Linked DNA regions of Homo sapiens: region 1 is linked to region 2. Evidence: promoter capture Hi-C in 16 types of primary human blood cells and fetal thymus (Javierre and others, 2016). All regions are on one chromosome and are shown on one strand. The core of a region is centred on a gene start or on the middle of the fragment in contact, and the rest is flanking DNA. Distances in the headings are between cores, read along the strand shown.

Region 1 (4,575 bases), core at 63-2,562, 140 kb after region 2:
AAAATCCATTGACTCATACACTCTAAATGGGTGACCTTTATGGTGTGTGAATTATGTCTCATAAAGTTGTTAGAAGTCAACATAAATGGAAGAGCAACCATTCACATAAAAATAAACAAAATTGTCAATGTTTTAAGAATTTTTCAGTAGGTGTAGTTAATTACAATTTGACTTTTTTAAGTCTGCACTAAAATTACTCACCAAAACCAATAGCAGGGTCCTCACTGCTGTTACTGAAAATGATTAACCTTTGATACACTTGTAATATCTGAGAAAAAGAAATGCAGGGGTCTCAGCAGGGCTCCCTTCTAAGGTCACTTGATTTCTAAAGAAGTAACCACTAGGTTTGAAGTCATCAGGATGTTAACTATGGGGATGGTTGGTTCAGTACCCAACATCCTGACAGCACATCTGACCATGTATATTGTATCGGAGACCACATCCTCAGCTCAGAAAAAGAGCTGAACTCATTTCAAATAGAAAGCACACTGCATACTGTTCCTCCAGGGACTGAGGTTGACTCTTCTTAGAGTGAGACATTCCCCAACATTGGAACAAAAATGACTCCCACTTCTTTTCTCACCTAAACCTGTTCAGAAGAAAGTAAGGAAGAAAGGCAGGAAGCAGGGGTCGGGGGGGGGCGGGGAGGGAGGGAAACTCGGAGATACTTTCAGTATCTAAAGTTGTGAAACTAGACAATCAGGAACGCACAATCAGAGGGCTGAAAAGGGCCAAGAGCCCCTACCCTCCTCCAGCCCATGTTCCCACACCTGCCACAGACCAGGCAGGAGCACAATAAACACTCACCACAAAGTGGGGAAGGAAAATCCAGGCAGGAGCCTCTATGTAAATAAATCTCCCTCCTGTCCTCAGCTTGCACTTGGCCTGCTAATTCTTATATAACCCAAGGAGACAGCTAGAAAGAATTTTGATTGGTGACCAATTTTGAGGACTTTTATTAAAATTCTAATTTAAGTCTTCGAGAGTTTCCAGTCATGGATACTACAGATAATATTGCAGATGATGAAAGCGTCTTCAAAATCATAGCTGAGACACTTTACAGTCTTCCCTGGTGTACTCTGATGGCAACAAGGTCCCTTGCCCCTCTCCTACCCTGTAGAATTCCAGCGCCCCCCTCAGCAGTCCTAGCAAAGGAAAGCCTGCCTGCTGGCAGTGAGCCATCATCCACCATTCTCACTTATTTGGATTTGGTTTCCTAATGCTAAACTTTGAAACTTGAAAAAAAAAATGAAAGGAAACCACATCCTTTTTACTCTCAGTATATAGATAGAGGCAGTTAAGAACTGAAAACAGATTTTCAGGTTGATTGATGTGGGACAGCAGCCACAATGAGGAACTCCTATAGATTTCTGGCATCCTCTCTCTCAGTTGTCGTTTCTCTCCTGCTAATTCCTGAAGGTAAGACTGATTCTTCTCATTTCCATTATGACCATGAAGCAAAATGGAGCAGACTTTCAATGAACTTTTGGCAATATTACCTTCCTATACTGAAAGAAGATGTTTTCCCCCAAGCCTTATAATGTTTAGCCAGGCACAATGGCACATGCCTGTAGTCCCAGCTACTAGGAACGCTGAGGTGGAAGGATCACTTGAGCGCAGGAGTTTGAGTCCAGGCTGGGCGACATAGTGAGACCCTGTCTCTATTTTTTTTTTTTAAATAGCATTCTTTCTTGGATTTTAAATATGTCTGTATTTTAGAAAAAAAAATCTTTTCTTCTCATAATTATTTTGCAAAAGATAGCAGAACCACCAATGCTTATTGCTGCCAATTTGTAACTTGAAAATTGCCAAAAAGGACAATGTAAAAATGAGTTAACAAAACTCTCTTGTTCGTAAAACAAATAGTACCTTCCAGGAAAGGAATAGTGGCAACTTAGTCAGCTCAGCCTTTCCTGCTGCAGAAAATGCATAGATAAAGACAATTAAGACAAATCTGACCTAGACACCAAAAGTGAATCAGGAATTATTAGAATTTTTATACTTATTTCTCTGGTCTAGAGACTCTTTGGCAATAAATTAAGGCGTGAGGCCAGTTCCCTCATTAACCCTTTGGGTGTGCTATAGTATTTTTTATTAAGCTAATTTTTTGTCTACCAAATGGTAACCAATATTTCTGCTTTTGTGTGAGTTGAGCATGCATGGGTTAAAATGCTGTATAATTCATGGTATTACCACTGAAAGGGTGACAGCTCTTGGGGAGCTCTAGATTTCCCTTGAAGAACCTGCTAGGAAGTGAGGACTACTCTCAAGCTGTGGCAATATGGAGCCAGCCACGGTTTTTCCCAGGATTCATCAGCTTTTGGAGGCAGGGACTTATGTAATAACCTGCCTTGCCAGGAATTCCCAAAGAACTCTGGTTTATCATATTTAGGTGCATATCTGGTTTATGCACCTAAATATGAGAAGACTTTGGGAGGCTGAGGTGGGTGTTTCACAAGGTCAAGAGATGGAGACCATCTTGGCCAACATGGTGAAACCTTGTCTCCACTAAAAAAACAAAAATTAGCTGGGTATGGTGGCACGTGCCTGTAATCCCAGCTACGCAGGAGGCTGAGGCAGGAGAATCGCTTGAACCAGAGAGTTGGAGGCTGCAGTGAGCTAAGATCGTGCCACTGCACTCCAGCCTGGTGACAGAGCGAGACTCTGTCTCAAAAAAAAAACAAAAAAGAGAGAGAGAGAGAAGAAATATAAAAATAACAAGGCTGCAGGACATTTGGGACAAAGGTTGGCTATGTTATAAGCAGGGCATAGTATGACTATATTCAGGCATGTTAAATCCTCCATAACAGAAAAACACAGGGCAGATAAATCCAGCCATATCTTTTCTTCAAAGGAAAACAACAAAAGCAACCTGCTGTGCTCCTCTTTGTTTCCTGTGTTCAGAGAGGGCAGTGTGGGCCCATATAAGGAACAGACAGCAAAGCAAGGCACAGTTGAAATCTATCTGTACATGAATCACCCTAGGAAAATTGGGATTGGGTGAAGGTCTTTTGTTTCTATAAGCTCTTTACCCTTTTGTTTCTAGAGCCTAGAATTTCTTCCTCCCAGTTTCCTTTTTAAAAGCAGAGACCTCTGCTTTTTCAAATCACACTAGCCACATTTCATGTGGTCACTCTCCTCCTTGCTCTTACCCTCATCAAATCTTACGAAAGGCTTCTATAGCTGTCATTAATACTTGCCTGTGAATTTGGCAATGACTTAGTCCTAATTATGGAACAAGAGGCACTGTGCCCTATTCAAGAAACCATGAGTCTCAGCAAAACTATTTTGGGAGAATCCAAGAACATCTGGTGCAGGAGGTGGAGCACTCGGAGTGTATCACTAAGACATAAGGTTCTCTCTATCTGCATGTATGGTTTGCCTTGTGTTTAGTTCTCACTGTTCCTTAACAATGGGTCTCTACTTCAAGACTATCATCAAGGAAATGTCACTTAGGCAGAATTCTTGGCATATGGTATCTTCTCTCTTCTCTTCCCTATCTCATTGGAAAAGACCTTAGATTAAACCCCATGGTTTGGTCTAGAGATTGAAGGGGAGGTGCAATCGATGTTATTTTCTTAACTTATGAGTGAGAACAGTGCAGTTTAATAACCAAAAGTCTCATAATGACCAAAGGACTGAGGGGTAGGGTCACAGCTAAACGATGCTAATATCGGTTCATAAGCTATATTTTTGCAATGGCTTGGGGTTAAAAGGGAAGTTATGAGGCTTCTAAAAGTCTTATCTATTTCCCCCAAATTAATAGTTAGCCAAAAAGGGTGGGAGCACTTGAGGTTGTCACTACCACTGGCATTTCCTGCAGCAACTGTTGATGGTAAAGACCAAGGCAGAGCTTTCTGCCCTGGGGCCTGAGGTTGCTGGTTTGTGACATCCAGCCTAATGATCCTGGAACAGTCAATGGCCTCGCTTCTGTGGGTGGAAAAACAGGACCCTAGAGTCCAACAGGAATAGGATTTGCATCAGATGTCTGCGGGTCTACATAGAGTAAAAGCAGGGGAAATGCTCTCATCCAGACTTCCTCTCTGAGTGCAAAAAGCATGGCTGGTCTTAGAAACATGACTTTGTGTAGAGCTCTTTGGGGGTGAGCACCAATCTGATTTGTCTTTTTCCATTGAACAGATGTCTGTGAAAAAATTATTGGAGGAAATGAAGTAACTCCTCATTCAAGACCCTACATGGTCCTACTTAGTCTTGACAGAAAAACCATCTGTGCTGGGGCTTTGATTGCAAAAGACTGGGTGTTGACTGCAGCTCACTGTAACTTGTAAGTGCCTGGGTTTTTAAAAAAAAGTTTGTAAAGATACTCTAATTTGGGGAAACATTAATAAAAAGAGTAGGCCGGGCACAGTGGCTTACACCTGTAATCCCAGCACTTTGGGAGGCCAAGGCAGGTGGATCACATGAGGTCAGGAGTTTGAGACTAGCCTGGCCAACATGGTGAAACCCCATCTCTATTAAAAATACAAAATTAGCCAGGCGTGGTGGCGCATGCCTGTAATCCCAGCTACTTTGGAGGCTGAGGCAGGAGAATTGTTTGAACCTAGGAGGCAGAGG
Region 2 (4,517 bases), core at 920-3,419:
TACACACCAAGCAGCAGACTCCAGCTGGGTGTCCTCCAATTCAGTTCTGATGCTACCTACCCAGAGATAGTGTCAGATCTGGCCTGTTGGGGGCTCAGTCCCCAACATTGCTCCCCACACCCCCCAGACACCAGTCGCAAGTCTGGGCCTCTGAAACTTCTGACAAACTGGCTTCAAGTTGAGGTTCCCAAAACTCCTTCTTGGAGTTCGATTAATTGGCTGAAAGGATTCACAGAACTCAAGGAAATAATTACTTACACTTACCACTTTATTATAAAGGGGATTACAAGGGATACAGATGAAGACACATGTAGGGCAAGGTATGGGGAAAGGGGTATGGAGCCTACCTGGTGCCCTGGGTTCAAGAACCTCCACATGTTCAGCTATCTGGAAGCTCACTGAACCCTGGTCCTCTTGGGTTTTTAAGAAGGCTTCATGACATCAGCATTCCTTCCCCTGAGGTATAAGGAAGGACCCTCTCTTGGGAGGGGCTTAAGGCCCACAATCAGAAAGGCAGGGAACATTAGAGTCCTGCCTTAGGCAAGGTGAAAGGAGGGCAGGAGAAGGTCCAGGGCTGCCCCTGAGACCTCACACACCTAACAGTGTAACGAAAGACTGGAACAAGGGCTATGGGAGTAATGAGCCAGGAACTGTGGCTGTAAACCAATATGTGTGTGTGTGTGTGTATGTGTGTGTGTGTGTAAGGAAGGGAGTGAAACTCAAGGAAGAAAAGCCTGATCACATCTGCTGGCTCTTGATTAAGTGGAAGGGAGTGAGTTCTGGAAACTTCTTCAATCACCTATCATTGCTCTTAGCCAATCATAGACCACACTTGTGAAATCTAAGTTGAGGAAAAACCCACAGAAGGGAAACATTCCTATATAAAATTTTTTCCCTGATGTTTAAACTACCTTAAAACTAAATTCCATAGTGTTTAAGCCACCTTAAAACTAAAAATTAAATGAATATTTATTGAGTCTCTACTATATGCCAAGTACTGTGCCACTTCCTAGAGACAAGCAGTCAACAAAAACAGATGCAGTTTCTATCTTCCTGGAGCTAATGCTCTTATGAGAAGACCTAGTGCGTGAGCAATTGATAAATAATAGCATCTCTCATAGATGCCTGCAGAAAAGCAACGTGGTGCTTGGAGAGCATAACAGAGAGGGGTTTAGCTGAGTCCCAGAGACCATGGAACAGTTCCTTTAAAAATGAAGAACTGAACTGAAATTTAAAGAATGGCTAAGAGTGAACTCAGCAATGGATCAGGGTCAGGATAATATAAGCAAAAGAACAAGCTTCACTAAAGCCAGTGAGATCAGAGAGAGCTAGACAAGTGTAGTGGGAAATAACTTGGATCAGTGACTCAAAACCTAAAAATGTATCAATGCTGGGGCTTCAGGCACTGTGATAGACAGAGGGAGAAATTTTAAGGACAGGTGACGATTGTGTTGTCCTCAAATTGTGCTACATGTGAAGCCAACTACATGATATGCTCATGAGTCCACCCCACCCCGCAAGTCCTCCCTGGACTCAGCCTTTCAATCAGAATAATGAGATGATCACTGTAGCTCAGAGGAACGAAGTATAATTCAAGACCTACATGATAGAATAATAGAGTTTTGTAACTGAAGGGGTCCTCTGAGGTCAATTAACCACGCCCCTCATTTTACAGATAACCAAAGTGAGGCCCAAAAAGATTGAGCTGCTTGCCCAATGTCACACCCCTAGTTAGTCGTGCAACACAGACCAGATTTCTGCCTCTTAGTAACTATGTATTTCTTCCTCCTAAGGTCAGGTGCCACAATGTACTTCCCAGCACTCACCTATTTGGATACATCCATGCCAGCTGTGATAGGCATGTTTTCACACATTTGCCCCACCCATACCCCCTTATGGTCGACTTTTCCTCCTGGCTATAGCCCTTCTTGTCCTAAATTTATTTGGTACCATGTGAACTGTGCCCTACCTCATACCCGGGTACAGCTGATTGTGTCACAGTGGGAGCTCTGGAATTAACAGGTATTGTCTCTGCCATGCTTCATTCTATCACTCTTTCCATGTTTCTTTGGAATCTAAACTCTTCTTTCCCATGGACAATTCTTCATCCCCACTCCCAGTCCTGGCCTAGTCACTCAGACTATCCCACCAGAGTACTTTCTAGGACTTTTCTGCTGTAGCTATTGAGAAAGTTCTACAGTCACCAGAGTAGACCCACTTTCTCCTGAGAGATGGGGAATCAGACAAGGTAAGTGAAGCCTGTGGATTCAGCCAAAGCTGAAGCCAGCTGTACCTATTTTAGTAATGTGAGCCAATACATTCCTTTTTTAAAACTTAAGTGGTGTATTAATTCATTCTCACACCACCATAAAGAACTGCCTGAGACTGGGTAATTATAAAGAAAGGAGGTTTAATTGACTCACAGTTCCACATGGCTGGGAAGGTCTCAGGAAACTTAACAATCACACCAGAAGGCACCTCTTCACAGGGTGGCAGGAAATAGAAGCAATCAAGACAAGAACTACCAAACACTTATAAAACCATCAGCTCTCATGGGAACTCACTCACTATCATGAGAAAAGCATGGGGGGAACTACCCCATGATCCAATCACCTCCCACCAGGTTTCTCCCTCAACACCTGGGAATTACAATTCAAGATGAGATTTGGGTGGGGACAGAGAACCTAACCATATCAAATGGTTTTTATACTGGGTTTCTGTTGCCATAGCACCAAAAAATAACTGGAATACACAGTGAAAGAGCTGCAATAGATGAATTTTTTTTGAAAGATGAATTAGTTGACCTGCTACCAAGTAGAATTTTTCTCTCAAAAATTTATAGTGATATACTCAGTGGTCATCCTTTAGTCAAACAATGTGCAGGAAGTCTAGAAATATAAAGGTTATATGGAGTTGAGAAAGAAATTACTGCTGAAACAAGGCAACACCTGTCCAAGCTAAGGTAATGGGAAACCAAAACAGAGCCAAATTGCCTGGGTCTGAGACCCAACTCTGCCACACGCTAACTACATGATCCTGGGTAAGCTTCTCTACCTCCACATGCTTCATTGTACTCATCTGAGAAGGGTATAAAAATAGTACCTGCCTCAATGGGGTTGTTGTGAGGACTAAACACACAAATACATGTGAAGCATTAGAACAGAGCTTGTGCAGATTTAATAGTAAGTGTTAGCTATTATTATAGGTATTATGTGATTATTGTTATTAAGATTATGGTTAAGCAGAAAAGCCCAGTGGACAGAAAGGAGAGTGGGCCTGGCATAAAGAAGCTAACAGTCATATGGTCATTGGGCCACAGAGGGAGAGACAGGAGTTGTCACTTCTCCAGTTCCCATAGGACCAGCCATACTTCATAAGCTTTCTGTATCCTCAAAACTACCCATCGACCCACTTTTCTTTTTTTAACTTTGGCCCCTCTGACTGGCTTTCTGTTTCTTGCCATCACACAAGCCTAGACAAAAGCATGGCATTTGCACAGCACGATGAAGGACCAACCAGATGGCACTGCCCTGCTCCGCACCATCAACTGTGCCCCAGCTTTTCTCTAACATGTATTCTCTCCTTCAAAATCCATCTTAGTTCTGCAAAAACAGCTCAAAAGCAAATGCTTCCCAGCAAAGCCAACATCATCTCAGCCATGTGGAAGGCATGTTATGCCAGCCATAACACAGTGGTTGCCATGGCTTGTAAGAGGATGAGAGGGGATCCTCGAAGTTTCCACCTTCGAAGGGCAGGTAGATCATTTCCTCTCTAGGGATCAGGCATCCAGGATTGCCATGTGAATCCAAAGTCTTTCTAACACTCTCTTTGCTAAGTTCTATTCATAGAAAACCTTGGCCTGCCTCCAGGTCCATGTCACATTGTTTGTGACAATGAGGAATGAGGATGTACTCAGCTTTTTCAGAAAAACAAGCTCATGTTTTCAAGACATTAAGGGCAAAACTTTTCCCACAGCATAGAGTGAAGTCCTCTTCATCATACCCAAGGTGCATCATTCCAAAACTCACAAACAAAACGCCCCCTACAAAGAAATCCCAAAGCCACACACATTCCAACTTCCTGGTCAGTAAACAATGTGTCTGAGAAGATTTACCCCGATGCCGGGCCCAATTCCTCCCCAGGAAACGGACTCTTTCTCGTACCTTTTCTCTCCTTACTTCAAAACACATAAAAGACTAAATGAGGGCAGCTGAGTCCACACTCAAGGACAAGAAAACAGCCTCTGGGAGAAGTGAAAATTCTGACCCTGTTTTTCCATCTGAATTTTCACCCATCAAGCTAAGGCAGGTCTAAACATTCTCACTCATCCTGAGATTCCAGAATTTCAGAATTACAACCTTGACATACCAGGACAGTCTCTGTAACTGCTACCAACCCACAAAGATGGAAACACAAATTCTCCTCTACATATGGTGGGGTTACACCGCAGTAAACCCATTGTAAGTTGAAAATATCATAAGTTGAAAATGCATTTGGTGCATCTAACCTGCTGGACA

Evidence for each region. Contacts are between HindIII fragments. The CHiCAGO score rates a contact against its expected background, and 5 or more counts as called.
Region 1: the fragment with the promoter of GZMA here is called in contact with a fragment that was not itself captured in region 2 in 4 of 17 cell types (total CD8 T cells, total CD4 T cells, naive CD4 T cells and 1 more); the score reaches 7.2 in total CD8 T cells.

What each region holds. Positions count from the first base shown.
Region 1 is chr5:55,101,334-55,105,908 of GRCh38, forward strand. GZMA (granzyme A) reads left to right here and starts at 1,313. Exons shown (of 5, transcript NM_006144.4): 1 at 1,313-1,419; 2 at 4,141-4,285. The coding sequence starts at 1,350. The HindIII fragment of the contact is 5,521 bases long and covers 1-4,575 here.
Region 2 is chr5:54,962,132-54,966,648 of GRCh38, forward strand. No RefSeq gene overlaps it. Among named protein-coding and RNA genes, the nearest start is that of ESM1, 21 kb to the right of the region's middle. RefSeq lists a silencer at 3,710-4,004. The HindIII fragment of the contact is 1,747 bases long and covers 1,297-3,043 here.